2 separate regions of the Homo sapiens genome follow, and region 1 is linked to region 2. Evidence: promoter capture Hi-C in 16 types of primary human blood cells and fetal thymus (Javierre and others, 2016). All regions are on one chromosome and are shown on one strand. The core of a region is centred on a gene start or on the middle of the fragment in contact, and the rest is flanking DNA. Distances in the headings are between cores, read along the strand shown. Region 1 holds the start of LEMD1-AS1 (LEMD1 antisense RNA 1). Region 2 has its middle 4.2 kb from the start of TRK-TTT8-1.

The links. The method cuts DNA at HindIII sites, captures the fragments that hold promoters and counts their contacts. A CHiCAGO score of 5 or more calls a contact.
Region 1: the fragment with the promoter of LEMD1-AS1 here is called in contact with a fragment that was not itself captured in region 2 in 4 of 17 cell types (naive B cells, total B cells, endothelial precursors and 1 more); the score reaches 6.3 in naive B cells.

The regions. Positions count from the first base shown.
Region 1 is chr1:205,368,173-205,374,666 of GRCh38, reverse strand. LEMD1-AS1 (LEMD1 antisense RNA 1) reads right to left here and starts at 1,415. Exons shown (of 4, transcript NR_038425.1): 1 at 1,233-1,415. RefSeq lists a silencer at 1,992-2,286. The HindIII fragment of the contact is 1,416 bases long and covers 1,214-2,629 here.
Region 2 is chr1:205,474,982-205,481,651 of GRCh38, reverse strand. No RefSeq gene overlaps it. Among named protein-coding and RNA genes, the nearest start is that of TRK-TTT8-1, 4.2 kb to the right of the region's middle. RefSeq lists an enhancer at 1-378 and a silencer at 554-613. The HindIII fragment of the contact is 1,242 bases long and covers 822-2,063 here.

The DNA.
Region 1 (6,494 bases), core at 166-2,665, 110 kb after region 2:
ATCCCAGCTATACAAGGACCCATGATCTTGAGATTTTCTTGACCTTGGGCCAAATCAAATTCCAAGGCAGGGCTCTAGTCTCAGCAATAGGAAGAGAATTAGTCTAGAGACTGATTTCTTCTTGTCAAGAGCAAACTCCTTGCCAGCGAGGTGTTTTATTTTTTCAATTTCAATGACTCGTCTGCCTCCCCTACAAATCTTGGAGCTCCTTGTGTCGAGGACTGTATCTTAATCATCTCTGGATCTCCTCTCGAAGTGATGTCTGTGCTACCTCCAGAAAGAGCCCATTTCCATTTTGAGCAGTTTCCAACTCAAATAGACATTTGAAACCACAAAACCAATACCCCAGATTTTGCTTCCTGTTTATCCCTGTGATGAGAAGTCCCTAAAATGAGCAAACTGCTGTTGAAAGGCATTCCCAATCAACCTCATTATGCAGTGTTTAGCCTTCTAACACACTGTCATTCCCACGGCATCCAAAGTCCTCATTCCTATAAATGTCACTATTTACAGCAGGGTCAATCCTGCCACCCAGCAAAGGTGTTCTCCATCCCATGGCCAAACAATGAAGTGGAGCCCTGGCTGGAGAAACAGGATTGAGCTAATTGCATGTCACACAGACACACTGGATTTCACAGGCTTGTGTTCTACAGATGGGGCGATGAGGCCAATTCTATTGCATGCATGCTGTTTAAATCTCTACCCAGTCAATATTCAGGGTGGCAGATGGAAGAAATTCTTAAAGGCTCTATTTCTGTTCTTCGACATTCAAAGAAATACTGTGCTACCACCTCTTAAAAATAATTGGTTAAGTACCAAGTTATTTTCATTGCCACAGTCATAAATAAAGAAGTGCTAGACCACAATGTTTATATCTATAGTAGTTGATAATCTTACATGCAAGAAAAATGATTGTTGATGTTTAGGAGGTTGTTTTTCTTGCTTTTTTTCCTCCCTTCCTTTCCTCCCCTACCCCTACCTCCCAGCCAAGAAAAGTCTTGTTGATTAGAGTAACAAGAAGGGGCTGATTTGGAAGTAAAATTAAACTTGACTCTTTCCTGAAGCAAGAACGTAATCTCAAGACTAAAATAAGAAAGTGCCTAACCAACTTGGCATTTTATTCTGAGGAAGATTCCCGATAGAAACTTGGATGGAAGAAAATGAAAGGGAAGCCAATTAGCCTGTGTTAAGCAATGCTAACTTTTAACAAGCTTGCTCAAGAAGAAATGAACCTGTTAAGAGGGTCATCCAGGGCTTCCTTGCCGCCTCGGTGCACAGCTCAATCATGCTTCCTTCTTGTTCATTTTGACAAAGCAGGTGAGTGATGAGCAGGAAAAAATTATGAGGAGGTGTTGGAGCAACTCGCTAATCAGCACTGCTACAAGATCGCCAGCATTTACAGGACCGCATTCACTGAGAAATGATGGCTGCTATGAATGTTCTCGTTTGTGGGCGTCACCTAAACACAACCCTGCCTAATGAATCAATCTCTGGAGAGCCAGAGGGGGCTATTCTAGGTACTGCAGATGTGGATGAGGACAGCTCTCCTCATTTCCTGGCAACAGGAGACTGGTGTGACAACTCTAATTCCTGGAGAGCCATTGGTAAAATCCTCCTTGGGTTCAAGAGTTAGCTAAAAATATGTGGAGGGGAAAGGATGAGTTTGTCCTTTTTTTTTTTTTTTTTTTTTTTTTTTTTTAGTTTATTGCTACTGGGTTTTTTTAAATTTGTCTCTTGAAGGAGAATGGATTATTAATGTTCATTACTGTTCTGATTAGGAGGCAGCCTTTTTCCCTTCCCAGATTAATGTTGGGCAACCCTTCAAATTGGCAGAGAGAAGGGTAACTCCACAACCTGTATGAACAGGGATGGCTTTGCTGCTGTGAAGAACATGTTGCTCTCACTTGCATTACTAGAAAAGAAAGGTGAGATCTGGTCTAAGAAGGGCTGAGGCAGAAATTTAAAAATAAATATGCATTAATTCACTCCGAGAAAAGTAACAGGCAAGGCAAGGGTTAAAAAGAAAAGAAGCAAGTTTTCCTCTGCTTAGCAGCTCACTTCAAGGACAGTTATAAGATAAGGCTGTCCGAAAAGCCAAGGCCAAAGGAATGGGCTCCAGACACCCACTCCTTCCTCCAGAGCAAGGTTGAAAGGAAAAAAAAGAAAGACAAATTCCTTTACTGTTACTCCTTTCCCTGGCTTCTTAAGCATAACTATGTTTTACAAATGTCTGTATTTAGCTAGTTCTTGTTTTTCTTTTGTCTCAGCTACAAGGCCACCAGCTATGCAAGGCCACAAGTTATGCACTATATGGTTAACTGCCTTTGTTTTGCTTTTGTAAGCCCGCTTATAAAAACCCCGCTCTGTCTTTGTTCAATGCTCAGCTTTTTGGATGTGAATCCACTGAGCCGGTGCATATCTTAAAATAAATATCCTCCTGTTCTGCCATATCGGTCTCTCCATTCCTCAGTTTACCTCAACGGGGCAACGTTAGGGAGAGTGTCCTAAGCAGAAGATCCAGGATCCAATTCTACCTCTGCCCTGGCAGGCTCCCGTGGGGCCTCAGCTTCCTCATCTGTAAAATGAGCACTAGAATGATCTGAGCCAGAAACTATGCAATGGGGAAGCTTAAAGACATTACGTTAAGTGAAATAAGCCAGTCAGAAAAGGACAAATACTGTATGATTCCATTTACATGAGCTACCTGGAGTAGTCGGATTCACAGAGATAGAAAGCAGAATGGTGTTGCCGGAGCTGGAGACTGTGGGGAATGGGGAGTTACTGTTTAATGGGTACAGAATATCCATTTTGGAGAATGAAAAAAGTTCTAAGATGGATGGTGGTGATGGCTGCACAGCAGCATGTATGTGCTTAGTGCCACTGAACTGTACCCTTAAAAATGGTTACAATGGTAAATTTTGTTATGTATATTTTACCACTATTTTTTTGAGACGGAGTTTCCCTCTTGTTGCCCAGGCTGGAGTGCAATGGTGTGATCTCGGCTCACCGCAACCTCCGCTTCCCAGGTTCAAGTGATTCTCCTGCCTCAGCCTCCTGAGTAGCTGGGATTACAGGCATGCACCACCATGCCCGGCTAATTTTGTATTTTTAATAGAGATGGGGTTTCTCCATGTTGGCCAGGCTGGTCTCAAACTCCCGACCTCAGGTGATCCGCCTGCCTCAGCCTCCCAAAGTGCTGGGATTATAGGCGTGAGCCACTGTGCCTGGCCTTTCACAATATATATTATAAAATAAACTAAGCAACTATCCACAACATTCACCCAAAGTATCAGGAGTCTCAAATTCAAGCACCCATGGGGGTCAGGCCATTTGTATGAGTGAGCCCACGGTCTTGCCTAGCGTACAGAGGAGGTAGTAGCTCCCAGCCCAGCCAAACCATCCATGCAGGAATGTGATCAGACTTTTCAAGAGGAAGGGAATATTCTGGATATTTATGTGAAATGTCTTAATTATTTAAATTGGCAACTAATTCAAAATTTTAAAAAGCAACAAACTGTGGGCAAACAAAATACATCTGCAGGTGAGATTCTGTTTTCTGCCTCTCTGTAGGTAACCAGTCTGTAGCATCTACTTTTTTTTCTTCTTTGTTTGCCAGCATTCCCACCCCCACATATCTCCCTTAATAACAGGTTCTGGCCAAGACAAACTATCTGGATAAGTCCATTGACCTTCTACATTGTGTACCTATGGGAGCCCAGCCAGAATATGCCAGCATAGGCAGGGTACACCCACCTATAGGCAGGTGCAATGGCATCAACACTGCCATCATTCTAGCAGAGCCTATCAGAGATCTGGGGTACACATGTGCATTTTCTAGCCCCAAACTCACTTTTACCTCAAGAATTCTACTAATTCTTATCATTATTTTCTTAGTTTTCTCAATGGAGACCTAGTGAAATAGTTCTCACCTCCTCTCCCATCACACTCTATGCCTTTGCTCTCTTAATTTCTGGTGTAAAACCAGCTTCCTTACTACATCTGATGTCCACACTCACTACCATATTCAGAAGTCAGATGAGGCCGGGTGCAGGCCTGTAATCTCAGCACTTTGGAAGGCAGAGGTAGGCGGATCACTTGAGGTCAGGAGTTTGAGACCAGCCTAGCCAACGTGGTGAAACTCCATCTCTACCAAAAAAACACAAAAATTAGCCAGGTGTGGTGGCACATGCCTGTAATCCCAGCTACTTGGGAGGCTGAGACAGAAGAATTGCTTGAACCCGGGAGGTAGAGGTTGCAGTGAGCTGAGATTGTGCCACTGCACTCCAGCCTGGGCAAAAGAGCAAGGTCCTGTATCAAAAAAAAAAAAGAAGTCAGATGATATCATGCATCTTTCTTGATTTTTGACAAGTGTGGAAAATACATCCCAATATGTAAGCTTCTAGAGTACAAGGGTTTTATACTTTATGGGAGTAGTAGCAGCCATGCAGATTCTAGAGGTCGCCTGTACTGTATTTCACTTATAAGCCTGATACTGCAACTTGGCAAAATAACATAGGCAGCATTCCACATTTGCTAGCAGCTTCATTTAAAGGTGGGACGTTGTTTGCAAAAGTAGGCCATTTGGAGAAGTGTGGGGAACATATCACTAATCATCTGCCAGTTCCATGCCTGCTTATACCAAATCTGGTAGCAAAAAGGAGAAACTTGAGCATTTCCTTAGGCTAGGCTTTCTACAATTAATTCTCAGTGACAGCGCAGATGTCTCTTGCTTGTAAGAAGCCATCAAAAGGTTCTTTTGGATGTGCTATGCTCTCCCTAAGTGGGGAAGCAGAAGTACTGCTTAGATAAACAGATCTGCATTCTCAGGAAATTCTGCTCTGCTGGCTATGGGAAGGCTGTAGGCTCTGTATTCAGTGAGTCTTTCTGCCCAACCACCCATGTGGTTCAGTGTGGCCCTATGCCCAGCAATGCCTCTTTCGATCAGCACTTTTCCCCAGACAACTACGGTTTACCTGTTTGAGAGCCATGACAATTTTTCTCCTGTTTATCATTCTGCTGGCAAGTATAGAGAGCCTACTATGTGCTGCGCACTGTGCTAGGAGATGGGATATAACAAGTAAGACACTCTCCCCTCCCTCAAGAAGCTTACCCAATAGTGGGGGAAGCAGAGCCATAAACAGATGATTAGAACCTGTCCTGAGTGTTTGGATGGATGCGGTTTTGGTGCTCTACCCAGATCCTCTTCCCTGGCTCAGCACACCCACCTCTGCAGCATGGGGGTTGGCTGCTAATGGCTCATGGGTGCCCCTCTCCTCCTGAGAGTTGTCCTCAGATGATGGGTGCTGCCTCTCCTCCTCCCTTATACCCACCCACTCCCTTATACCCTTTGGCAGCCCACAGCCAAAGGATGGACTGATGTGGCCTGGGCACAGTAGCTTATGCCTATGATCTCAGCAGTTTCAGAGGCCAAGGCAGGAGGATCACTTGAGGTCAGGACTTTGAGACTAGCCTGGGCAACCTAGGGAGACCTCATCTCTACAAAAAATAAACAAAATCAGCCAGGCGTCATGATGCACACCTGTAGTCCCAGCTCCTCGAGAGGCTGAGATGGGAGGATTGCTTGAGCCCGGGAAGTTGAGGCTGCAGTAAGCCAAGATTGTGCCACTGCCCTCCAGCCTGGGTGACAGAGTGAGACCCTGATTTTTAAAAGGGGGAGTATTGGCCGGGCGCAGTGGCTCATGTCTGTAATCCCAGCACTTTGGGAGGCCAAGGCGGGTGGATTATCTAAAGTCAGGAGTTCAAGATCAGCCTGGCCAACATGGTGAAACCCCATCTCTACCAAAAATACAAGAATTAGCTGGGCATGGTGGCAGATGCCTGTAATCCCAGCTACTCTGGTGGCTAAGGCAGGAAAATCACTTGAGCCCGGGAGGCGGAGGTTGCAGTGAGCAAAGATCGCACCATTGCACTCCAGGCTGGACAACAGAGCGAGACTCCATCTCCAATAAATAAATAAATAAATAAGTAAATAAATAAATAAGCATTAAGGTGGAGAGAGGATAATTCTGCAATATTATTTATGCTCCAGAAGACCCTACCCATCCACTGTGAATCAGGCCAGGGCTAGACTTTACCTGGGACCACAGGTCTGTTTGGCTGCTTCCCCTTTTGCGCTTTCAGACCCTTGTAGGTCTTTCCGGAGAGACTACTGCAATAAATCATATGCCTGGATCCCTGTCTGAGGCTCTGCTTCTACAAAACCCTACACATGACAGTGTTATGGGGGCAATATTTGGTGGAAATCTTCCTGAAATTTATACCTTTCTTTGAGGACATTGAATTAGATGATATTCCTACCAACTCTATTTTTTTTTTTTTTGAGACAAGTTCTCGCTCTGTCACCCAGGCTGGAGTGCAGTGGCACGATCATGGCTCACTGCAGCCTCGACCTCCCAGACTCAAGCAATCCACCCACCTCAGCTTCCTGGAGTAGCTAGGACTACAGACATGCACCAACACACCCAGCTAATTTT
Region 2 (6,670 bases), core at 193-2,692:
CCCAAGGTCACACAGCAGCACAGTAGCAGGGCCAGGGTTAGCATCTAGATTCCTAACCTCTGGTGAGAGGTCTCTCCCAGGCACCCTGGGTCCCATCTCATCCCAAGCTCTGTCTGCCACAAATCCCCCTTCCTGATTCCCCTACACACCCAGTTCTTTCCCTGCCACAGCCCAGGTGGCTGCCCTCTAGGAACCCTGATGAGCAGACTTGCAACAGATCAGTGTGCAGGTCGGCACGGGATCTTCCTCAATTCGGTGTTGGTTCACTTAACGGGGATGGAGTCACAGGCTGTGGCCACACGACGTGGAGGGAGATCAAGTCCCCACTGCTGCCAGGGGAAAACAGACTAGAAAACTCCCATCCCAGCATCTGAGGACATTAAGGGCAGGCCGGAAATGGGAGCGGATCTGCGATGCCCACTCCACGGGAGGCGAACTGTTGCTTCAGGGAGGAGGCCCTGGTGCCACACAGGTGCAAGGACTTGGGAACCCAGAGGAAGCACTGGGGCTTTCCAGGAGTCTGGTGGCTCTAGAATGGAGGGAGGAGGGGGGTGAGGAAGATGGGGCTGGGGGAGGGGGCAGGGTGGGTGGGGAGAAGATGGGTTTGGTGTAGCAGCAGGGCTGTGGGGTTCTACTGACTGCTGTGCACCTCCACCTGGGCGTCCCGCAAATACTTCCAAGACAACACACCCCAACCTCAACTCAGCGTCACTCCGACAGCCTTTCTCCTGTGTTCGGTGGCCTGGCCGGTGGCGCACCCTCCCCCAAGCACCCAGCCAGAGATCGGAAAGCCCCTCTTCACACCTCCCTCTTCACAAGCTTTCATTTCCTGCCAGTCACACATTTTGCCAAGTTTACCTTCTTGGTTTTTCTCAAATTCATCCTGCCCTCTCCCACCGCTGCCTTGGACCTCTTCTCACCTGGCTGCAGCAACAGCCTCCTGGCTGCCCTCGCGCCTCACCCCTGAAACCCATCCTCCATGCGGCCTCCAGCCTCATCCCTCTTTCCCGTTCAAACTTCCAGGGTCTCCGCATCCCCTGGGAGAGCATTTTAGGCTCCTTAGTATGACCAAAAGGATGTCTATGGTTTGACTCCTGCTTGCCACAGCCGTGCAGTATGGTGGTTAGAAGCACAGATGCTGGAGCCGGATTTCCTGGGTTCAAATCCTATCTGTGGCTGGGCGCAGTGGCTCACACCTGTAATCCCTGCATTTTGGGAGGCCGAGGCAGGCAGATCACTTGAGGTCAGGAGTTCGAGATCAGCCTGGCCAACTTGGTAAAACTCCACCTCTACTAAAAATACAAAAAATTAGCCCAGTGTGGTGGTGCACGCCTGTAATCCTAGCTACTCTGGAGGCTGAGACAGGAGAATAGCTTGAACCCGGGAAGTGGAAGTTGCAAGAGCTGAGATCACACCACTGCACTCCAGCCTGGGTGACAGAGCAAGACTCTGTCTCAAAAAAAAAAAAAAAACCTACCTGTTACTTTCTAGCTGTGTGTCCGAGGCAAGTCACTGAACCTCTCTGTGCCAATGGTTTTCTCACCTATGAAATCGGTATTTTAAGAGTACCTGCCTCATAAACTTGTTGCGAGGATTGAATGAGTTTTTCTGTGTAGAAGCAGTTAGAACTGGAATTATTACCCCCCTACCCCTGCCAGCCTGGCTTCTTCTCCTGCCCCTCTCTGTCTCACACGTTTGTATCCACAGCTCAGCTTTTCTTGTAATTCTCTCTCTAGCAATTGTGCCATTTCTCAGCTCAGTGTCTGGGCCCCTCAAAGGGATAACTTCACCCTGCAGTCATCAGTCCACCCCCAAGAGCCACTGGTCTCCCCCGTGGCTTGGCTCTCCCTAGCACGTGGCTGCCTGCTTTCTTCTCTGTCTCCCCTGCTGCACTAGAGGTCCTTGAGGGCGGATCTGGGTTCCTGGTGCCTAAATCCTGCGTGGTACACAGGAGGCCCTTGATAAATATGTGTGGAACGAATGGTTGCAACATTGTTCCTGGAGAGTTCTCAGAACTCTCTGAGAGTTTGTAGTGAGGAGTGAGGGTGCTTATGAATGAAGCTTCACCCTGCCCCCCCACCCCCCACCACCCCACCCCCCTCCCCATCACCATGGTCCTGGGGATACATGTTAACATTCATGCCCTGCCCAGGTGTGATGGCTCATGGGGGAACTTGGAGACTTAGGAGATAGACAGGCAATGAAATAAGTGTGGTGATCAAGCAAGTATGGACTATAATGGAATGAATAAAATAAATGGTGGAGAGGCCTCATTGGGACCCCCAGGACTGCCCTCTGCTCATGTGGTGATATTGGCACCAAAGACAGGGTGTCTTAGCCAGGAGTAGCTCACTTCTGTCATCCCAGCACTTTGGGAGGGTAAGGTGGGAGGATTGCTTGAACCCAGAGTTCGAGACCAGCCTGGGCAACATAGCAAGACCCCACTTCTGCAAAAAATTAAAAAATTAGCCTGGCATGGTGGCACACACCTGTAGTCCCAGCTACTCGGGAGGCTGAGGTGGAAGGACAGCTTAAGCCCAGGAGTTTGAGGCTGCAGTGGGCCAAGACTGTGCCACTGCACTCCAGCCTGGGCAACAGAGCAAGACCCTGTCTCAAAAAAAATTTTTTTTTTTGAGACATGGTGTCTTGTGGTTACAGATTCTTGGCACCATGGCCCTCCTCCCTCCCTGCCCTCCCATGCCAAGGGCCAACATTGCTGCCCTTTAGTACCTGGAAGGGCTTCACACCATTAAGGGCTTAATATCATGAGGCCCCAAGGCCCCTGCCAGCTCACTGTGTTTAGAGCCATATTTAAATCAGTTCAATGCCTCTGGGAAGAGAAAGCCAGCTGCCCGGTGATCCCTCACTACCTCTCCAGGCAGCTCAGAGATGCCCTCTGAGCTTCTTCCTCCTGGGTTCATCTGGAAGCAATCTAACATTGTTTAAAAGCTAGCCTTGACAGGCAGATCAATTGAGGTCAGGAGTTTGAGACCAGCCTGGCCAACATGGAGAAACCCTGCCTCTACTGAAAAATACAATAATTAGCCGGGTGTGGTGGTGCATGCCTGTAATCCCAGCTACTCTGGAGGCTAAGGCACGAGAATCACTTGAACCCAGGAGGCGGAGGTTGCAGTGAGCCAAGATAGCACCACTGCACTCCAGCCTGGGTGATAGAGTGAGACTCAGTCTCAAATAAATAAATAGATAAATAAATAAAAGCTAGGCTCGAGCTGGACAGCTGGACAGCCTGGGTTTGAATCCTACCTCGACCCTGTAGTAGTTGGGTGGCCCTGGACAAATGTCCTCACCTCTCTGAGCCTCAGCTTCCGTATTTGTAATGAGACCTCCACCATGGAGCTGTGCAACTACATGACCTAATGTACATAAAGTGCTTACAGCAGTGCCTGCGTGTGATTAGCTCTGTTTTATGAACAATGCCCTTGCTTTTACTACATTGCGTTCTGTGTTACTTGCTCTGCTCTCCTGAGTCCTTGTGGGCAGTACCCTCTAGCTTCCTCATTCATCTTGGTATCCCCAGGGCCTGGCACAGTGCCTGGCTCAGAGCAAGGAGGCCAAAAATATTTGTGGAGTGACGTCTGACTTAACCGTCAGAATGAGCACTGGAATGGGCTGGAGCCAACAGCCAGTGCTGCCCACAGGTGGGCAGGGGCACGCTGCCTGGGGAGGGGTGTGAGGGAAGCGGGCCAGGACCAAGGGAGGCCCAGTCAGGGGATGCTTGGTGCTGCTTTTCCTGCTTGCAGATCCCAAGGCGCAGTGGCCATCTGCCGGGGGCGGGAAAGGCAGGCCCGTCCTCCGAAGCAGGTGCCCAGGCAGGTAGAGTCTGGAGCCAGCCTAGAGGATTTACAGTTCTGCCACTGAGCGCCTGGACCAGGGACAGCTAGAGGGAATCCACATGGCCCTGCAGAATGGAGGGGGCAGCTGGCCAGGCCAGGCCTGGGACAGAGGGCACCCCTGGAACTGCCAGGGTTTGAGGAAGGAGGGGCAGTCCTGATGGTTAACCCCTCAGGGGGAAGGGCAGAGGATGTACCCTGCTGGAAGGACTGAGAATGTCAGCAGACAGCCAGCCCTGTGCCTCACCACACTCCCAGGAGACCCGGGCCAAGGTGGGAAGGAGCCTGCTCTGAACCTTACGGGGCTGTGACAGTCCCAGGGCTCACACCCTGCTCACCAGTGTGCTCCTCACCCCACATACAGCTTCGCAGGCACACCTGGGGCCGCGGGGTCTTCATCCTTGGAGCTCAGCTAGGCCATAGCAGGTAGGGGTGGGGGATGGGGGCAGGGATCTGACAGTCTCACTCAGTTGAGGGGGATGTTGAGTCATAGATGTTGGGAAGCCCATTCTAATGGTGATGGGAGTGATCTAAGTCCCTCAAGGACTGGCTTTCTTGCTAACAGATGAGAAAGGGTCTGGCATGTTGGATCATGGGTGAGGGGTGTCCTCTGCTCTAAACCTGCTCAGGGTCGGGCTCCATTTTCTCTTCTCAGCCTTTGAACCCCAAAAGATGGGACTGGCCAACCAATGGACAGCTGAAGATGTCGGCCAAATCCCTGCGGGTGGGGACACCCTGCAGAGTGACAGTGACCTGCTGCAGGAACCCCATACCACACACATATAAACACACTACACGTATACACACACACACCACACATACACCACACACATATACACACACACATGCATATGTACAGCACACACCATATATATACCATACATACTACATACACACACTGTACACATACACACACACACCGCACAGCACACATATACACACACTACACATATATACACACACAGCATTCACACCACACATACTACACACACATCACACACACACACCCCCAACCCCATACACACCACACACATCCCTTTCCCTCCCTCACCATCTCACTAACACACATACACACCACTCTGCTCCTTTCACAAGCTAACAATTGCAACAGACATGCCTGCCGGACTTAATGTTTCCCGTAGGGAATGAGGTGGTGGTCAAGGCCTGGCTTGTGGGAATGGAGGTATGGTTCTATTAGCAGTTGTGTGTATGTGACATATTAAACCTGAGTTTGCTGTTGTTCAATATTCAGTCATTCAACATGTATTTCCACACTGATTAAACACTTACTATGTGCTAGGCACAATTCTAGGTTCTAGGGAATCCTAGTTGAGGTTTCCCAAGAAGTGAACCTTGAGACAAGGGCTTTAAAAAAATTAAAAAGCTTTATTGAGATATAACTCACATACCATATAATTTACCCCTTCAAAGTGTATAATGTGGTGATTTTTAGTATATTAAGAGTTGTGCAACCATCACAATTTTAGAACACTTTCATCACCCTATAAAGAAACCTCATACACATTAGCAGTTATTCCCATTCTCCTCTTCCCCTGACCCCTAGCAATCACAAATATAGTTGTTGTGTCTATAGATTTCCCTATTCTGGACTTTCATATCAATGGAATCATACAATATGTGGCCCTTTGTGACTAGCTTCATTCATCTAGCATAATGTTTTCAAAGTTCATCCATGTTGTAGCATGTATTAGTACTTCATTCCTTTCTATGGCTGAATACTATTCCATTGTATGGATGTACCACATTTAGCTTATTCATTCACCATTTCATGGACATTTGGGTGGTTTCCACTTTCTTGCTATTATGGATTATGCTGCTATAAATATTTATGTACAAGTTTTTGTGCGGACATATGTTTCAATTCTTTCAGGTATAGATACCTAGTGGAAATGTTGGGTCATATGGTAGCTCCATATTTAACATTTTGGGAACCTGCCAAACTATCCTCCAAAGCAGCTACGCCATTTTACATTCCCACCAGCAACGTATGAAGCATTCCAATTTGAAATAAAGTTTTAACTGTAGAATTTTATTTAGGAAGTGATCCCAGGATATACCAGGAGTGGAATAGGGAAGGGAAACTGGGAAGGGAAGGCAGCCCATAAAGGATCATTATCAGGAAAATTACCCCTGGGAGTCATCAAAGCTCAAGGCCACTGAGTAACTCTGGGAGCCAGGTTAGAACGGGCACCACAGAATCATTTTACCTGGGAAACAAAGGGGTAGAGGTATGTTATACACCAGCTCCCAACAACGATTAGTTTCTACCCTAATCATCATCACCCACTGAGGCAACCAACCAGAACACCTCAATCCAAGCTCATACTTCTTATTTTACACACTAGTAGGATCCCTTCCTCTACTTATAACACTTGTTTATACTCAAAATACCTCAGGTTCACTAAATATGCTAGTAATAATACTTGCTACCCGAGAGCTATTAACTGCCATTGGTTGAGGGTTTCTGGGGTGTGTGTTAGTTTTCTGAGAATTACCTTTTGCTGGATGCAAGGTGTATTAGTCCGTTTTCACACCGCTATAAAGAACTGCCTGAGACTGGGTAATTTAAAAAGGAAAGAGATTTAATTGACTCACAGTTCTGCAGGGCTGGGGAGACCTCAGGAAACTTGCAATCATGGCAGAAGGGGAAACAAACATGTCCTTCTTCACATGGCAGCAGGAAGGAGAAGAATGAGAGCTGACCAAAGGGGGAATTCTGCTCCTTATAAAACCATCAGATCTCTGGTGAGAACACACTATCATGAAAACAGTATGGGGGAACCACCTCCATGATTCGA